Regions from separate parts of the Homo sapiens genome. Here all the other regions are linked to region 1. Evidence: promoter capture Hi-C in 16 types of primary human blood cells and fetal thymus (Javierre and others, 2016). All regions are on one chromosome and are shown on one strand. Each heading gives the region's core, a stretch centred on a gene start or on the middle of the fragment in contact. The rest is flanking DNA. Distances are from core to core; before and after follow the strand shown. Region 1 holds the start of DMKN (dermokine). Region 2 overlaps FFAR1 (free fatty acid receptor 1). Region 3 holds the start of KMT2B (lysine methyltransferase 2B). Region 4 has its middle 6.6 kb from the start of ZBTB32. Region 5 overlaps KMT2B (lysine methyltransferase 2B). Region 6 overlaps MAG (myelin associated glycoprotein).

Region 1 (2,700 bases), core at 19-2,518:
ATAACAGGGAAGTAGGAGCTGAGGAGGACAGATGGGGATAGTGTTTACAAGGTAAGAAGTGTTGGATGTTATAAGCTGGGGTGCGGATATTGGGGTGGAGAGAAGAGAGAGACTGACTGAGAGACATTGAGAAAGGCTGATGGAAACTGGCCCCTCCTAACTGGGCGATGAACCCCAGTGATACGAAACAGTGGGAGGCCCTGTGGCCCCTGGGAATAGAGAAGCAGCCACACTTGCTGGGCAGGGGTGAGGCGGGGGGAGGCTCCCAGGTTCTGTATCCCGAGCTGGGACTGGGGAGAGGGCCGTGGCTCTCACGGATGGCTCCTGACCTTGCGCTACCCTCTTCTCGCTTGCCATTGCTGCCCTGGCCCCTGGCCTGGGGGATGGGTGGGGTGAGCTGGCCCAGTCCCGCCCCTCATAGGCGCTTATACTCACACGTGCCCCTCTAGGGCTGCGTAAACAGGATGGGTGCCTGGGTCAGCGGCTCCCTCCCTTGGCCTTCCCTCCCACTCGTTCCCTGGGGGTGGCTGGCGCGCCTGGCTGCCCTGCTCCGCGCCCAGCTTTCTCAGCCGGGAGCAGCCTGAACGCTGAGACACCCTGCTGACCACTCAAAGGGCTATGGCCACCTCCTTCCCCGACACCGAGGGTCCCCCCGGGGGCTCTCCCCAGAATCTCAGAAACTGACACGCAGCCCCGTGTTTGCCAGTCTCTCTCTGTGGGCTGGAAGGTGTGGAGGAACAAGAAGGCAGTCACCTGTAGGTGGCAATGCGGGAGGGGAGAGGGAGAGGAGAGGCTGAGGTGCTGAAACCGAGAAAGGCCAGGCCGAGGACGGGCAATGCCTGTCACTCTGGAGCCCCTGAGCCAGGCTGGCTGAGCCTGGGTGGGTCCTGTCCCCTGGGGCTTCCCTGTCCTTACTCCTTTGGTGGGGTCCTGCCAGTAACTCCTCTCTTCTAAGTCTGCCCCCACCCCACCGCCTCCAGGAGCCAACGACAACCTGTCTCCTTAGATGCCCCTGCCCCCACCCAGCTCCCCGAATGCCTGGGGTTGGGAAATGGGAGCACTTTTGCATCACCTCATCCATTTCTCCCTCCCTCCCTGATGCGGCTCACTCTCTGTTTCGACAGAGACTCTCAGACTCACAATAACAGCTGATTACCCTATTGGTGGCTGGGCCCTGAGTCACTGCGGGGAGGGACCTCAGGTTGCCCAGCCCTGTCACCTTCTCCCAACCTAGAGTATAAGGAGTAGTGACAGGGAGGTGGACTCTGAGAAGCCCAGGCAGTTGAGGACAGGAGAGAGAAGGCTGCAGACCCAGAGGGAGGGAGGACAGGGAGTCGGAAGGAGGAGGACAGAGGAGGGCACAGAGACGCAGAGCAAGGGCGGCAAGGAGGAGACCCTGGTGGGAGGAAGACACTCTGGAGAGAGAGGGGGCTGGGCAGAGATGAAGTTCCAGGGGCCCCTGGCCTGCCTCCTGCTGGCCCTCTGCCTGGGCAGTGGGGAGGCTGGCCCCCTGCAGAGCGGAGAGGAAAGCACTGGGACAAATATTGGGGAGGCCCTTGGACATGGCCTGGGAGACGCCCTGAGCGAAGGGGTGGGAAAGGCCATTGGCAAAGAGGCCGGAGGGGCAGCTGGCTCTAAAGTCAGTGAGGCCCTTGGCCAAGGGACCAGAGAAGCAGTTGGCACTGGAGTCAGGCAGGTTCCAGGCTTTGGCGTAGCAGATGCTTTGGGCAACAGGGTCGGGGAAGCAGCCCATGCTCTGGGAAACACTGGGCACGAGATTGGCAGACAGGCAGAAGATGTCATTCGACACGGAGCAGATGCTGTCCGCGGCTCCTGGCAGGGGGTGCCTGGCCACAATGGTGCTTGGGTGAGTGGCTGTGGGGCTGCATGTGGAAATGGGAGGCTGTGGGCTGCTGGGCTGAGATTCTTGGGAAACGGTTGAAAGGATGGATGGATCTCTTACTTGCAGGCTTCTGGGGCAGCTTCCTTCTATGTTCTGCCCCCCTCCTATGCCACCCTGGAGTCCCTCTGCCTGTCTCTCTCCTGGTCTCTTTATGATTTGCCCTGGCTCTTCTCTACCAGGGTCAGAGATGGTCCCACTAAGTGCAGGTATGTTGTTCTTGCAGGAAACTTCTGGAGGCCATGGCATCTTTGGCTCTCAAGGTGGCCTTGGAGGCCAGGGCCAGGGCAATCCTGGAGGTCTGGGGACTCCGTGGGTCCACGGATACCCCGGAAACTCAGCAGGCAGCTTTGGAATGAATCCTCAGGGAGCTCCCTGGGGTCAAGGAGGCAATGGAGGGCCACCAAACTTTGGGACCAACACTCAGGTAAAGTCACCCCCAGACCTGCTACCTGCCACCTCCCTCCCTCCAAGCCCACATGCTCCGCGTGCCTCCCTGGTCCCTCTGGATCCTACTCTCAGTCTCACCCTCTCTGCAGGGAGCTGTGGCCCAGCCTGGCTATGGTTCAGTGAGAGCCAGCAACCAGAATGAAGGGGTAAGAGGAAGGGGCTGGGAACAAATGAAGAAGCCACTGGGTGCAGGCTACAGAGAGCTGGGGAAAGACAAAGAGGAAAGCAAGATGGGGGAGTGGAGGGATTGGGGTGAGAGGAAGAGATGGGGCTGGGCGAGGTGGCTCACACCTGTAATCCCAGCACTTTGGGAGGCCAAGGCACGTGGATCACCTGAGGTCAGGAGTTCA
Region 2 (2,700 bases), core at 105-2,604, 160 kb after region 1:
CCCTTTCCAGAGGAGCCCATCCCGCACCAAGTGCTGCCTAAGGAGTGGCTGGTGTATTTCTTCAAATTAGAACACAATACTCCTTCCCTTGATGCAAGCAAGGCAGGCATGTGGCTTGTTGAGCAAAGCACAGGCTAGAATTTAGTCAGTGTTTGCTCCTCTGCCCAGTACCTTCGTGTAGTGAACACCCGCTCATCCGTACGGCAGTGGCAAGGCTAAACCACAGCGTTGTGTGAAGCTGAAGTGAGACAACACTCACTGTAGACACTCAGCGTGACACCCATCACGTATTACAGACTATATAGTTGACCTTTGAATAGCACAGGTTTGAACTGTGCAGGTCCACTTACTTGTGGATTTTTTTCAATAAATACATTGGAAACATTTTCAGAGATTTGCAACAATTTGAAAAAACTTACAGAGGAACTACAAGCCTAGAAATATATTTTTAAAATTAAGCAAAAGTTAAGTATGCCACGAATACAAAAAATATATGTAGGTACTAGTCTATTTACTGCCACTAGTCTATTTACTGCCATACATACTAGTCTATGTATGCCAAAATGGATACAAAGCTTTTTTTTTTTTTTTTTTTGAGACAGGATCTGGCTCTATTACCCAGGCTGGAGTGCAATGACATGATCTCGGCTCACTGCAACCTCTGCGTCCCAGGCTGAAACCATCCTTCCACCTCAGCCTCCCAAGTACCTGGGACTACAGGCACACGCCACCATGCCCAGCTAAATTTTTTGTATTTTTGGTAAAGACAGGGTTTCTCCATGTTGCCCAGGCTGGGCAAATCTCTTATAGAAAGTTAAAATTGGCAGGGTACCGTGGTTCACGCCTGTAATCCCAGCACTTTGGGAGGCCGAAGCGGGTGGGTCAACTGAGGTCAGGGGTTCGAGACAGGCCTGGCCAACATGGTGAAACCCCATCTCTACTTACAATACAAAAAATTAGCCAGGTGTGGTGGTAGGTGCCTGTAATCCCAGCCACTTGGGAGGCTGAGGCAGGAGAATTGCTTGAACCTGGGAGGCGGAGGTTGCAGTGAGCCAAGATCACACCATTGCACTCCAGCCTGGGAGACAGAGCAAGACTCTGTCTAAAAACAAAACAAAACAAAAAAGTTAAAATTTATCAAAAATATATGCACGCAAACACAAACTCTATTTGATGCCATTTGAAGTCAAGAGAAATGCAAGCAAACATAAAGATGTGCAGTATTAAAGTCATAAGTGCATATTTACTGTAGACATACTGTACTCCTATAATAATTTCGTAGCCACCTCCTGTGCTTTCTCCGTGAGCTCAACTGTTGAGTATCTGCTTCCAACACCACGTGAAGCTAATCACCTCCTGGTGAGCAGTTCTCGCCAGTACACTGTGTACAGAAGTAAAAAGTGATCTTTCATAGTCATTGCATATGTTTCACCATGTTTAATGCAATACCGTAAACTTTGAATAACCCCCTTGGCCCCAAATGCGGGGCCACTAGTGATGCCAGAGCTGCTTCCAAGAAGCAAAGAAAAGTCATGACATTATAAAAAAGGGTTGAACTGCTTGATATCTACCACAGATTGAGATCTGCAGCCGCGGTTACTGCCGCTTGAGACAGACAACTTCTCTTATAAACAGACAACAAAACTTACAGTATTGATAAATACAGCACAGTGCTGTGAAGGTATTTTCTCTTTCTAATAATGTTTTCAGTAACATGTACTTTTCTCTAGCTTACTTTATTGTAAGAATACAGCACATAATATATATAACATACAAAATATGTCTTTTTTCTTTTTTTTCCAGAGACAGGATCTTGCTCTGTCACCCAGGCTGGAGTGCAGTGGTGCGATCATGGCATTGCAGCCTCAATCCTGGGCTCAAGGGATCCTCCCACCTCAGACCCCTGAGTAGCTGGGACTACAGGCACGCACCACCACGCCCAGCTAATTATTTTTATTTTTATTATTTGTAGAGGTGGGGGTCTCACTATCTTGCCCAGGCTGCTCTTGAACTCCTGGCTTCGAGCAGTCTTCCCGCCTCGGCCTCCTAAAGTGCTGGGATTACAGGCATAAGCCACTGTGCCTGGCTTCAAATATGTCTTACTCAATTGTTTATATACTGGGTAAAGCTTTTGGTCAACAGTAGGCTATTAGTAGTTGAACTTTGGGGGAGTCAAAGTCATGCACAGATTTTCCACTGCGTGGGGTTCGGCACCCCATCCCCACGTTGTTCAAGAGTCAACTCCGTAGCCTTTGCCCATCACTGCGGGACCTTGCATTTTCCCTCCCCGGCTGAAGCATCTTTTCCTGCCAGCCTCCGTTCCAAGCTCCAAGGCTGCCCCCTTGCGAGTTTCACATGGTATAACAGCGTCATTATCCTGCCTCCTGCCTCCTCTCCTACTCGGAAATCAAATGTTCTCTCCTGGGAACTGATTTCAGAGTAGCTGTCCTCAAGTGCATCACCGGAGTGGCAGTTCCTGTGGGTCAGAAACAGACTGCCTCCTCCTTCCCGTAAGTACAAGGCCTCTGCTCGCGGCCCACGGAAGACAGGCAGGTGAGGACGTGCAGAGGGGAGAGAAAGATAGGCGAGGAAGGGACAAACTTCCTCGACACGTGCAGGGGCAAACTTACCTCCCCCTGCCACCGTGCTCTGGCTCGGTGCTCCTCTCTTGACTGGGGTGCTGCCCTCAGCAGGCGCCGC
Region 3 (2,700 bases), core at 116-2,615, 200 kb before region 1:
ACCCCTGCCTATTTAAAAAGAACGAAAAAGACTCAAAGGTCGCGGGTAGTGGAAGAGAGGGTCTCTCCCTAGGGATGGAGGCGCCAGGTATTTCGAACTCCGATCCCCAGTGCCGGACCACACCAGCACAGCCAAAGCCATGGTTCACTGGCCCAAGAGAGAAGACGACAGGGTCTCCTCAGGAAAGGCAGCAGGCCCCATACTCAGATTCCTTCAGAGTCCAATTCAGACCAAAGTGGGACCTCCACTGACACCCTTTCGGGCCACAATTTATTTCTGCATTAAGTTGGGAACAGGGGCCCGCAAGTGAAGGGGCGGGGAGGGCATCAGATGGCTTTCGTACAGGCTCCACTGCGAGCTCTCAGGTTGTTATTAACCGTCCAGGGCAACGCAACCCACACCTTCCTGCCTGTTCTGAAAGGCTGGGGGAGAAATCCTGAGCTGAGCTCTGACCTGCTAGAGTGCCCAGTCCCGGCCTTCATCCCACTCCTGTTCAACCCGAGCCCCAAGAGGAAGCCCTCCACCACTCTACCTGAGATGCCAAGAGAAACTGGGGCCCTGGAGAAACCAGGAGGTTGCGAGGCCCGGCGGGGCGGCCCACAGGTAAGAGCCCAGACAGCTCCAACCTGTCTGCCAAGGCCACGCTGCCGCTGTCAACCACGACTGGCTGGACATGCAGTCCCCACTGCCTCCTCGCCCAAACCTCCACCGCCCTAGCTTTGCCAGCTGCCGAAAAGGATCGGCCCAAGACACTTCAGCGGGACCGACATCGGGCGCGAGTGCCTGGCTGCAGCCGGGGCTTCTCTACCCACTTCCAGAGGCCCTTTCCCCCGGAAGCTGCATGCAGCCGCCCTCCCTCCGTGCCCCGTCTCTCCGAAGGAACCCTGAGGACCCGGCCTGCCCACGCCGCCCCCGGGACAACCCAGACCCCTGGAAGCCCCGGCCTCCGCCCCACCCGGCGCCGGGGACGCCTCCAACCGCCTCACCTCCTCGTCGGATTCCCCGTCACTGCTCTCCTCCTCCGGCACGCAGCCTCGACTCGGGCCCCAGCCCCGGCCCCGACCCCGTCCCCGGCCCCGCTGGACCCGCGGGCCGGCCCACAGGCGGCGGAGCCGGCGCAGGCCCCGGCGGAGCCCCAGCAAACGGAGCAGGGCCGTGTCCTCCCCGGGCTCGGCTCCGCCCGGCCCCGTCGCGCCACCGCCGCGCCGCAGAGCTACCCGCACTCTTTCGGCCCCGTTGCCCCGTCCGCCGCGGCCCCCGCCCCCGCCGGCGCCCCGCGGCCGGCCCGGGAAGCGGCCCCGCGCGGAGCCAGGCCCGGGGCAACTGCCGCCGCCCGCCGCCGCCGCCATCTTGGCACCGTGAGAGGGGCCGGGGAGGCGGGGGGAGGGGCGGCCCGTGCGCAGGGCCGGGGGGAGGGGAGAGAGCGGGGGCGGGGCGGGGCGGCCGCGGCGCACGACAACAACCAGCGCCGCCGCGGGAGACCGGGGGCCGGGCCGGCCACGCGCAGGGCACCACGGGAGAGGGAGTCCGCGGCCGGCCGGCGCCCTCGGACCGCACCTGGGGAGCACAGACCCCCGCGTCGCGGCCGCAGAGGGGCGAACCGCGGGGGCCTCCGGGAAATGTAGTCCGGACGCCTCGCTTCTTCCGCCGGCAGCCAGGGCGCGAGGGCCGGGACGGCGGGGTTCCCGGCCAGGACCCGGAAAGCGGGTTGCCGGGTCTCCGGGAGGTGTGGTCCTAGCCCCAGGCTCCTCCCATTGTTCTTGGCTAGGCCGGCGGCCCGCGTGGACTACCACTCCCAGGGTGCCGCGGGCTCGGGCCCCGGGACCCCCGAGGCCCTGGGAAATGCAGTTCGCGGCTGCAGGAGGCGTGGGCTGGAGAAGGAGCGGTGGAAAGCATAGTCAGTCTCCGTTCCAGGCGCGACCTGGCGGCGGCTTGGCACGGTGTGGAGGGAAGACGCCGGAGAGGCCGCGGTCTCGGGGTCCGTGTGCTCCCGGAGAGGAGGCGGGTGGCCGAAAGCAGGGTCGGAGCACGCGTTCCTCTCTCTCCCGGGCCGAGCGTTCCCAGATCAGACTCCGCGCGCCGTGGATTGCAGTGGAAGGGGCGAGTGACTTGCGGTCGCACAGCCCCCACCAGTCCAGGACCGGCATGCCGCAAGGTGTGCCCGGACACCGAGTCCTCGGGGCCGGCTGCCTCCTGGGGAGGACGGGGCGCCTCGGGGGTGGAAGAAGTGTCCATCCCGCTGGACAGCGGACGCAGGGCCACCAGGGGCCGCTACAGGACAAGGGGCGTGGGCGGGGGTGTGCACAGACTAAACTCGGCTTTCTAGTCCTGAAGGGAGGGCACAGGAAACTCTTTATTATGGTGATGAGATCGACAATCTCCCCTACTGTTAACCTTCGCTCCTGCACACTTCAGTGTCCTCACTCTGTAGGGCTCGCTGGCCTGGGCTTCTGCGACCCGCGATCGTCCAGGAGAGGGCACTCGGCGCCCTTCCTGGGGCGCTTCTGGGGCGGAATTTGCTAGGCCGCCGTAGCAGCGGTGCCAGGTCAGAAGCCGAGCCGGCCCGCTTTTCGTTCTTTAATTGGACTCTTGGCTAAGACGCTACCGACACCCCGTCAGGTGGTGGAGGAAGAAGGACAACAGGGAGAGGTCGAGGGCCGAGACGGCCTCGAGGAGGAGTAGAGGAAGGTGGAGCGGATG
Region 4 (2,700 bases), core at 169-2,668, 180 kb before region 1:
AACCTCTGCCTCACAGGTTCAAGCGATTCTCCTGTCTCAGCCTCCCGAGTAGCTGGGATTACAGGCATGTGCCACCACACCTGGTTATTTTCTTTCTGTTTTAATAAGCTGGTCTACAATACAGGTTTCCTGTGTTTTGTTTTTTTAGAGATGGGGTCTTGCTGTGTTGCCCAGGCTGGAGTGCAGTGGCTATTCACAGGTGCGATCGTAGCACACTGTGGCCTCAAACTCCTAGCCTCGGCGATCCTCCTGCCTCAGCCTTCTGAGGAGCTGGGACTACAGGCACATGCCAACATGCCCAGCTAATTACTACAAATTATTGAATCCTTTTTATGGGCCAGGAAGGCATGAGAAGATGGAGTGAGGGACCCTGGGCTCTGGCAAGATGGTATAGGAAGGGTTGTTGGCTTGGCTTGGGGGGTTGGACTGTAAGATTTGGAGAGTTAAATGTCTGAAAGAAGTAGAAAAATAAATAAAAAGCCCCTGCCTTCAGTTGCTTATTGAGCAACTCCCCATGCCAGATCCTACACTAACTAAGCTTAACTGTACACTGAGAAGCAGAGAGCCTTGCAGCCTAGGTAGCTGAATGCTGGATCCAAACTGTCTGCATCATATCCTGGCCCTGTTATTTACTAGTTGTGAGACCTTTGGCAAATTGCTTAACCCCTCTGGGCCTTAATCTCTTCATCTGGGCATATTAAATGGTCATATCATAAATGGGCATATTAATAGTACATATTGGCCAGGCATGGTGGCTCACACCTGTAATTCCAGCACTTTGGGAAGCCGAGGTGGGCGGATCACCTGAGGTCAGGAGTTCGAGACCAGCTTGGCCGACATGGTGAATCCCTGTCTCTACTAAAAATACAAGCCTGTAATCCCAGCTACTCGGGAGGCTGAGGCGTGAGAATCGCTTGAACCCAGGTGGCAGAGGTTGCAGTGAGCTGAGATCATGCCACTGCACTCCAGCCAGGGCAACAGAGTGAGACTATGTCTCAAAAAAAAAAAAAAAAAAAAAAAAGGGCTGAGTGGCTGAGTGCAGTGGCTCATGCCTGTAATCCCAGCGCTTTGGGAGAACGAGGCAGGCAGATCACCTGAGGTCAAGAGTTCAAGACCAGCCTGGCCAACACGGTGAAACCCCATCTCTACTAAAAATACAAAAATTAGCTGGGTGTGGTGGCAGGCACCTGTAATCCCAGCTACTCGGGAGGCTGAGGCAGGAGGATCGCTTGAACCTGGGAGGGGGAGGTTGCAGTGAACTGAGATTGCACCACTGCACTCCAGCCTGGGTGACGGAGCGAGACGTCATCTCAAAAAAAAAAAAAAGGTACATACTCCCGGTCGTGGTAGCTCACATGTGTAATCCCAGCACTTTGGGAGGCTGAGGTGAGAGGATTGCTTGGACTCAGGAGTTCAAGACCAGGTTGTGCAACATGGCGAATCCCCATGGCTACAAAAAATACAAAAATTAGCCAGGTGTGGTGGCACACACTTGTAATCCCAACTACTGGGGAGGCTGAGGTAAGAGGATCACCTGAGCCCAGGAGGTAGAAGCTACAGTGAGCCATGATTGCAACACTGCACTCCAGCTTGGGTGACAGAGTGAGAACCTGTCTCAAAAAAAAAGAAAAAAAGTGTGTACCTCTCAAAGTCATTGAGGGGATTAAATGAACTAATAGAGCAGTGGTATTTCTTCTTCTTTTTTTTTTTGAGATGGAGTCTGCCCTCCAGGCTGGAGTGCAGTGGCGCGATCTCGGCTCACTGCAACCTCTGCCTCCTGGGTTCAAGCGATTTTCCTGCCTCAGCCTCCTGAGTAGCTGGGACTACAGGCGCGGGCCACCACGCCCAGCTAATTTTTGTATATTTAGTAGAGACGGGTTTTCGCCATGTTGGCCAGGATGGTCTCGATCTTTTGACCTTGTGATCCACCTACCTCGGCCTCCTAAAGTGCTGGGATTACAGGCGTGAGCCGAATAGTGGCATTTCTTCTGTTCCCCAATGCCCTGTAACCGAGTTGTTTCCTTGCAATCAGTGTCATCTGCCTTGGCTGTGGTGTAGACCCTGAAAATTAAGGGATCATGGGAAAGCCTGGGGGCAGTGTGTTCCCAGAAGCAGTAGCAAGCGCAAAAGCCCCAAGGCAGGAGTGAGCTTAGTATATCTGAGGTACAGCAGGAAGTCCACCTGGAGCCAGGCAGCTGACTAAGACTCAGGAGCTCAGCTCAACGGCACGAGTGTTCATAACAGATGTGAAAATAACCCTGTACCTTTCAGAGAACAAAGGACTTTCCCCAAGCTTTGATCTCTGGAAAAACCCCAGACCATGATTACATTTGAGGCTCAGTGTCCACAGTTGCACAGGAATGAAGCTTAGAATTCAGGTCTTCTAGCTCTCTAGGGCCCATGCGTCAAGGTCAAGAAACTTACTTTCACTCAAATATTTATTAAACTCCTGGCCAGGCGCAGTGGCTCACACCTGTAATCCCAGCACTTTGGGAGGCCAAGGTTGGCTAATCACTTGAGGTCAGGAGTTGGAGGCCAGCCTGGCCAGCATGGCAAAACCCCATCTCTACTAAAAATACAAAAATTAGCCGGGCATGGTGGCGGGCGCCTGTAATCCCAGCTACTCAGGAGGCTGAGGCACAAGAATCGCTTGAACCTAGGAGGCAGAGGTTGTAGTGAGCTGAGATTGGGTCACTGCAC
Region 5 (2,700 bases), core at 52-2,551, 220 kb before region 1:
GATGGCAGCGACGGCAGCAGGAGGTGTGAGGGGTCGTGGTGGGCAGCCACGGCCTCAGTTAAGGAACCGACGGCAGCGCTTGGCGCCACAGTTGCAGGGCAGCTTGTTGCTGGCATCCTCGATGGGGAACTTGTAGTCGTAGGTGAGCTCCTCACCACGCAGGATGCGGCGCAGGGCGAAGATAACAATGTGTTTCTGGCCCTCCACGTGGATGACCCGAGAGAAGCAGTTGGGCTCACAGGAGTGGTTGATGAAGCGGGCGGCATTGCCATGCATCGTGGCGTCCACTACATCAAAGTCATCCATGCGGAACATATAGCACCCGATGCCCTGCAGGGATGAGGTGGGGAGATCAGGTGCTCTGTCCCCGCGGACAGGCTCGCTTCACCCACTGTCTTCCCACAGCCACTGGGAGCCCACCTTCCCATCGTAGAACTTCTCCCGCTTGTCAGTCAACACCGAGCGGATGACAATGCCAGAGTACTCGATGACCATCTCCCCCGCGTCGATGTTGCGCTTACAGAACAGGCCTCGCCCGTGGATGGCTGATCTGCAGGGCAGGATGAACAGGGAACTCAGGGGGGAGGGGGACAGAAACCAGACAGTACCCCCTACCCAGTGCACCTGTCCGTCCACCCAAGGGGCATCCTCCCCCCCAACCCCACTCACCTGTAGACACCCACAGCTTCTTTGGACGTCTTCTTAAGGTGACGAAAACGCATGGCCATGGGCAGCTCCAGGCTGGTGGCACGTCTGGTGAGGGACAGCAGTGTCACCCAGGCTGGTGCTCAGAATGACCTCTCTCACCCCTGCTCACTCTCTAAGACCCTTCCAGACCACCACCCGCCCCCCAGCTCACACTCCATACCTGGTTGACCTGAGCTGCACCTCATCCTCTTCCTCATCACAGGTGGCCCCCTCAGGGAGCACCCGGTGCTGGGAGGCCAGGAAGTTGAACATGTCAAAGGTGCACTTCCTGCAGGTGGCAGCAGGGGAAGGAGGAATATACTGTTGAAGACAGAGCTAACAGGGAAATGGGTGGGGTTCATTTTTCTGATGTCAGCTCTAGAAATAACTTTTTTAAATTTTTATTTTAGAGATGGGGTTTTGCCATGTTGCCTACGCTGGTCTCCAACTCCTGGGCTCATGCGATCCTCCTGCCTCGGCCTCCCAAAGTGGCGGGATTACAGGCATGAGCCACGGAGCCTGGCTAACTCTAGAAATAACTCTTCAAGTGACCTAGTGTCTCCTCCCCAGGCCTCAGTTTCCAACCTCTACAGTTAACTCCCACCCTCAAGAGCTCTCATAGGGGCGCCCTGACCCAGGCATCACACCCCAGACCTCTCACCGGAGATAGACCTCTGCCCGAGCAGCCCCATGGGGATTCAGGGGCGGCTCCTCCTGGCCCTCTCCCTGCTGGTGGTAACGGAACTTATAGTGCTGGCAACGCTGGGCTCCGGGGAGCTGCTCGGCCAGGAAGATGACAGCATCATGGTGGATGCCCAGGAGTCTCGCCCCACTCATTCCTGAGGGGAGATGTTGAGGACACACCTGTCATGTGGAGGGCCCATGGTGCCCTCGGGGAGACATCCAGCTCCCTGCCCCCTGTGGGGCCCACTCCTTACCACTAAAGGAGAGATGTCTGAGTCGGGCATGCCCTCGGGCCTCTTGCACTTTCTCGATCAGAGTTCTCCACGCCCCTGGGGAGACAGCAGAGCCAGAGCTGAGTCAGGATGGTGTTTTATGGACACTCTCCCTCCTGCCACTGCACTCCCCCCACTCACCCTCCAAGCTCTCTGCCTCAACGCTGAACCCATCCTCACTGCTGATCTCGAAGCGCAGATGTGGGCCAGTCCGTTTTGGGGCCTGGTTCTCTTTATCATCTGGGGATGGAGGCTCTTCCTCAGAGCTCGAAGCCTCACCTGGTCCCAAGAAGCAGGTTGGAGTGAAGATCACCCTTCCCGGACTCAAAAGCCCCTGAGCCCCGCTGTGCTCCCAGCAGACACCACTCTCTCCACCCCTAGGCGCAGACACAGATACTAGGGTCTAATGGCCCTCCTTCTGCTCCAGTTACCCAGTGAGCCCTGCAGAATGGACATTTCTTCCCCTAAGGAGCCTGCGGCTCCTCTTCTGCAGGACTTCTTGGGTACAAAAGCATTCCACAGAGGCTTGGGGCCTTTTGGCTCTTCAGGACACGCCTATGGCTCACTCAAACCCAGTGTACCATACATCCCATCTACCTGTCATTATTCTGTTTCTCACACAAAATTTAAAATACTGGAGAATTGTATTTTGCACATCTATTTTTTTTAGATGCAGCAAATTTCTGTAACTGTTACAAACATAAAATTATCATTTTTTGAGACAAAGTCTCGTTCTGTCTCCCAGGCTGGAATGCAATGGTGTGATCTCGGCTCACTGCAACCTGTGCCTCTCAGATTCAGGCAATTCTCCTGCCTCAGTCTCCCGAGTAGCTGAGATTACAGGCGCCCACCACCACGCCCGGCTAATTTTTGTATTTTCAGTACAGATGGTGTTTCACCATGTTGGCCAGGCTGACCTCAGGTGATCCGCCCGCCTCGGCCTCCCAAAGTGCTGGGATTACAGGCGTGAGCCACTGTGCCCAGCTACAAATATATTATTATATAGGCTCACATGCACAGAGCCAAGTACACTGTATGTTATGAGCTATTTAGGGGA
Region 6 (2,700 bases), core at 149-2,648, 200 kb after region 1:
TCAATCTGGGAGGTCCTGCAGGTGACATGTGGGTTCCCCCCACGCTTCCCACCCCTCCCTCCACCCCCTAGCCACAGGAATTTGGACACACAGGACGGTGGCCACAGACAGAAGGGAGCTGCAACAGGACAGACTAGACAAGGCCAGCACTGCCGGGCAGGCCCGGACATCACCAGAGACCACCTTGACGCCTGACAGGGACACACGGACATGCACGCCAACCCCAGGGCCCAAGGAGGGCCCAGAGGAGGGCACACTGAGGCCCCCGGAACCTACCTCCTGGGGCACTCAGTGAGATTCCAGGGTAGAAACCTCTTTGGACTATTGGAGAAGGAAATGCAGTCACAGACACAGGCAGGGAGGGGAGGGGGCCCTTAGGCCCCACGTCCCATCGCCCCCTACACAGCTTCGGCCTGGGCACCTCCTCCCCAGCCTCCAGGTCCAACCCAGCCCTGGAATGTCCTTCCTCTCCTCCTGTGAGAGGCCGCTCCCACTCCCCTGCCCCTTGGCCTCACAGGCCTTTCCCAGGCCTTCAGTGTCCCTGGCATCCAGGTTCCCAGGCCAGCCTGGAGCCTGGTCCTTACCTCGTACTTCTCTGGTGCCCCAGAGATGCGGAAGTCGCTGCTGAACAGGACGGGAGGGTTGTCCCCTGCCGAGAAGCTGGGGCTCTCTGTCACGTTCTTTCTGCAGGGCAGGACTCGTCAGACCTCTCTCTGCCCTCCCTTTCTGCACCCCCACGTGTTTTAGGAGTTTGGCTCAGGGGACCTCAGAGTTCTCCCACCCATCTCTAAGATGTGGCAAGCAGCCCTTTCAGAACCACCAGCCTCTCCTACCCACACAGCCCATCCTTCCCACCTCTGTGGCCCCTGCCCGGCTGGGGACGAGCCACCTGGCCCCTGAGCTCTGCCGTTTTTCAGGACCCCCACCTGGATTCTCCAGGTTCCCCTCATAGGCTCTGGGTCTTTCTGCCCCTCTTGCCACCAGGATGTGGAGCAGAGGGGTTAATTTATTTCTCAGGACAGCTGATGTGTGTGTGCCACAAGAAAGAAACACGGCTGCAGCTGAGTTGGGCCAGGTGGGTATGGTTTGGGGCTGGAGAGGCTTTCTGTCTGTCTGTCTGTCTGTTTGTTTGTTTTTAGAGACAGGGTCTCTCTTTGTCACCTAGGCTGGAGTACAGTGGTGAAATCATAGCTCACTACAGCCTCAACCTCCCAGGCTCAAGCGATCTTCCCTCCTCAGCCTCCCGAGTAGCTGGGACAACAGGCACGTGCCACTAGTAGCTAATTTTTTTGTTTTTTTGTAGATGGGGTCTCCCTATGTTGCCCAGGCTGGCCTCTAATTCCTGAGCTCAAGAATCGTTCCACCTCAGCCTCCCAAGTAGCTGGGACTACAGTGTGTGCCACCATGCCTGGCTAATTAAAAAAAAATTTTTTTTAGAGATGTGGTCTTGCTATGTTGCCCAGGCTGGTGTCAGATTCCTGGCCTCAAGCAATCCTTCCTCCTTGGCCTCCTAAAGTGCGGGATAACAGGCGTGAGTCAACGCGCCCGGCCAAGGCCTATTTTTTTTTTGCCCCAGATGTGTGTAATCTTTGGGGCTTCTGGCGTCAAGTGGACCTGCTGCTGTGGCTGCAGTGGGGTACCTGGGCTTTCCCCACCACACTGGAGTGTGTAGGGGAGAGTTCCTAGAGATAGGGAGGCTGTCAAAATAGAATGTGGGCAAACAGGTCTCAAATGATGTGTGTAAAGGGCTCAGCCCAGGCCCTGGTGTGCCCCTGACCAGCAGGGGCTGGAATTAACAGGAACCCTCTCTCCTCTGTCCAGCTGAACATTCCCAGAACAGAATCTGCCTTCTCTACACTTATGGTGCTGCCTTCCCCCACCCACTCTGGGCCTCCATCTCCCACCAGGTCCCCTTTTTGGAGACTCCCATCCCCAGATCAGCCCCAGCTGGCACTCACTTCCTGCGTGTCTGGGTAATGTAGCAGACGATGGCAATCAGGATGGCAAAGGCGACCACGGCGCCCACAGGCCCGATCTTGGCCCACATCAGTCGATCTGAGGACAGAAAAGACCCAGGCGCCCTTAGGGCTATGGGTGGTGGTGACGACACCTGAGAACTTTGGAGACATGCTGGGATGACAGTCAATGTAGTCACACAGCCGGGGCATCCTTGCACTGACTGATTGGCACGGAGCCTCCTCGTGCCAGGGCAATCCCTTTCATGCTAGAGGGCCCTGGGGAGGGGCTCATGCCTCAAAGGTCCTAGCAAACTCGGGGCAAACTCAGGGCGGCTTCTCCTCTCCAACCGGAAAGGGAGAATTTGACCTTTCTGTCAATCTGCATAGCCCATGCTCTGTGGCTGTTGGTCAGCCTTGGGAGCTTGGATCTAAGACGTGCCCGCTCCCTCCTGTGGCTCCCACCCCAAGTCCACGCCACTCACGGGCTCCCTGGAAGGGCAGCTCCAGGCTCTTGGCGCCATAGAGGTTCCTCGCGGTGCAGATGACGCGGGGCGGGGCCTGGGCCTGCCCCCGCAGCGTGAGGATGCTGGTGAGCACGAGGCCGCTGCGCTCCGAGTACACGAACTCCCGCTCGCTCTCGTTCACGGTCACATTGCGCGATGGCAGCTCAAAGGCCACGGACGGCTCCGGGTTGGACTTCACCACGCACAGGCACTGCACCGTGTCTCGGGCTGCCGCGCAG

The links. Contacts are between HindIII fragments. The CHiCAGO score rates a contact against its expected background, and 5 or more counts as called.
Region 2: a contact is called between a fragment that was not itself captured here and the fragment with the promoter of DMKN in region 1, in 16 of 17 cell types (M0 macrophages, megakaryocytes, M1 macrophages and 13 more). The highest score is 16.3, in M0 macrophages.
Region 3: the fragment with the promoter of KMT2B here is called in contact with the fragment with the promoter of DMKN in region 1 in 2 of 17 cell types (neutrophils and monocytes); the score reaches 11.0 in neutrophils.
Region 4: a contact is called between a fragment that was not itself captured here and the fragment with the promoter of DMKN in region 1, in 5 of 17 cell types (monocytes, megakaryocytes, naive B cells and 2 more). The highest score is 6.7, in monocytes.
Region 5: a fragment that was not itself captured here is called in contact with the fragment with the promoter of DMKN in region 1 in 1 of 17 cell types (monocytes); the score reaches 6.4 in monocytes.
Region 6: a fragment that was not itself captured here is called in contact with the fragment with the promoter of DMKN in region 1 in 6 of 17 cell types (neutrophils, total B cells, megakaryocytes and 3 more); the score reaches 8.3 in neutrophils.

What each region holds. Positions count from the first base shown.
Region 1 is chr19:35,512,217-35,514,916 of GRCh38, reverse strand. DMKN (dermokine) reads left to right here and starts at 1,268. Exons shown (of 16, transcript NM_033317.5): 1 at 1,268-1,867; 2 at 2,127-2,327; 3 at 2,440-2,496. The coding sequence starts at 1,442. The HindIII fragment of the contact is 13,607 bases long and covers 1-2,700 here.
Region 2 is chr19:35,352,587-35,355,286 of GRCh38, reverse strand. FFAR1 (free fatty acid receptor 1) reads right to left here. Exons shown (of 2, transcript NM_005303.3): 2 at 1,423-2,700. Among named protein-coding and RNA genes, the nearest start is that of FFAR3, 4.5 kb to the left of the region's middle. RefSeq lists a silencer at 159-258 and an enhancer at 2,235-2,700. The HindIII fragment of the contact is 1,553 bases long and covers 578-2,130 here.
Region 3 is chr19:35,716,668-35,719,367 of GRCh38, reverse strand. It overlaps KMT2B (lysine methyltransferase 2B), which reads right to left and starts at 1,365. Exons shown (of 37, transcript NM_014727.3): 1 at 987-1,365. The coding sequence starts at 1,349. ZBTB32 (zinc finger and BTB domain containing 32) reads right to left here. Exons shown (of 7, transcript NM_014383.3): 7 at 2,330-2,700. The coding sequence ends at 2,616. RefSeq lists silencers at 931-980, 1,031-1,110, 1,151-1,220, 1,241-1,290, 1,371-1,850 and enhancers at 576-1,133, 2,421-2,700, 2,253-2,700. The HindIII fragment of the contact is 14,363 bases long and covers 1-2,700 here.
Region 4 is chr19:35,696,581-35,699,280 of GRCh38, reverse strand. No RefSeq gene overlaps it. Among named protein-coding and RNA genes, the nearest start is that of ZBTB32, 6.6 kb to the left of the region's middle. The HindIII fragment of the contact is 1,755 bases long and covers 541-2,295 here.
Region 5 is chr19:35,735,912-35,738,611 of GRCh38, reverse strand. KMT2B (lysine methyltransferase 2B) reads right to left here. Exons shown (of 37, transcript NM_014727.3): 31 at 1,785-1,922; 32 at 1,626-1,700; 33 at 1,349-1,526; 34 at 869-976; 35 at 670-753; 36 at 421-550; 37 at 1-330. The coding sequence ends at 55. Among named protein-coding and RNA genes, the nearest start is that of IGFLR1, 5.2 kb to the left of the region's middle. The HindIII fragment of the contact is 3,993 bases long and covers 1-2,700 here.
Region 6 is chr19:35,309,902-35,312,601 of GRCh38, reverse strand. It overlaps MAG (myelin associated glycoprotein), which reads right to left. Exons shown (of 11, transcript NM_002361.4): 8 at 2,441-2,700; 9 at 1,959-2,055; 10 at 585-684. Among named protein-coding and RNA genes, the nearest start is that of CD22, 18 kb to the left of the region's middle. RefSeq lists enhancers at 155-654, 655-1,156. The HindIII fragment of the contact is 3,088 bases long and covers 1-2,700 here.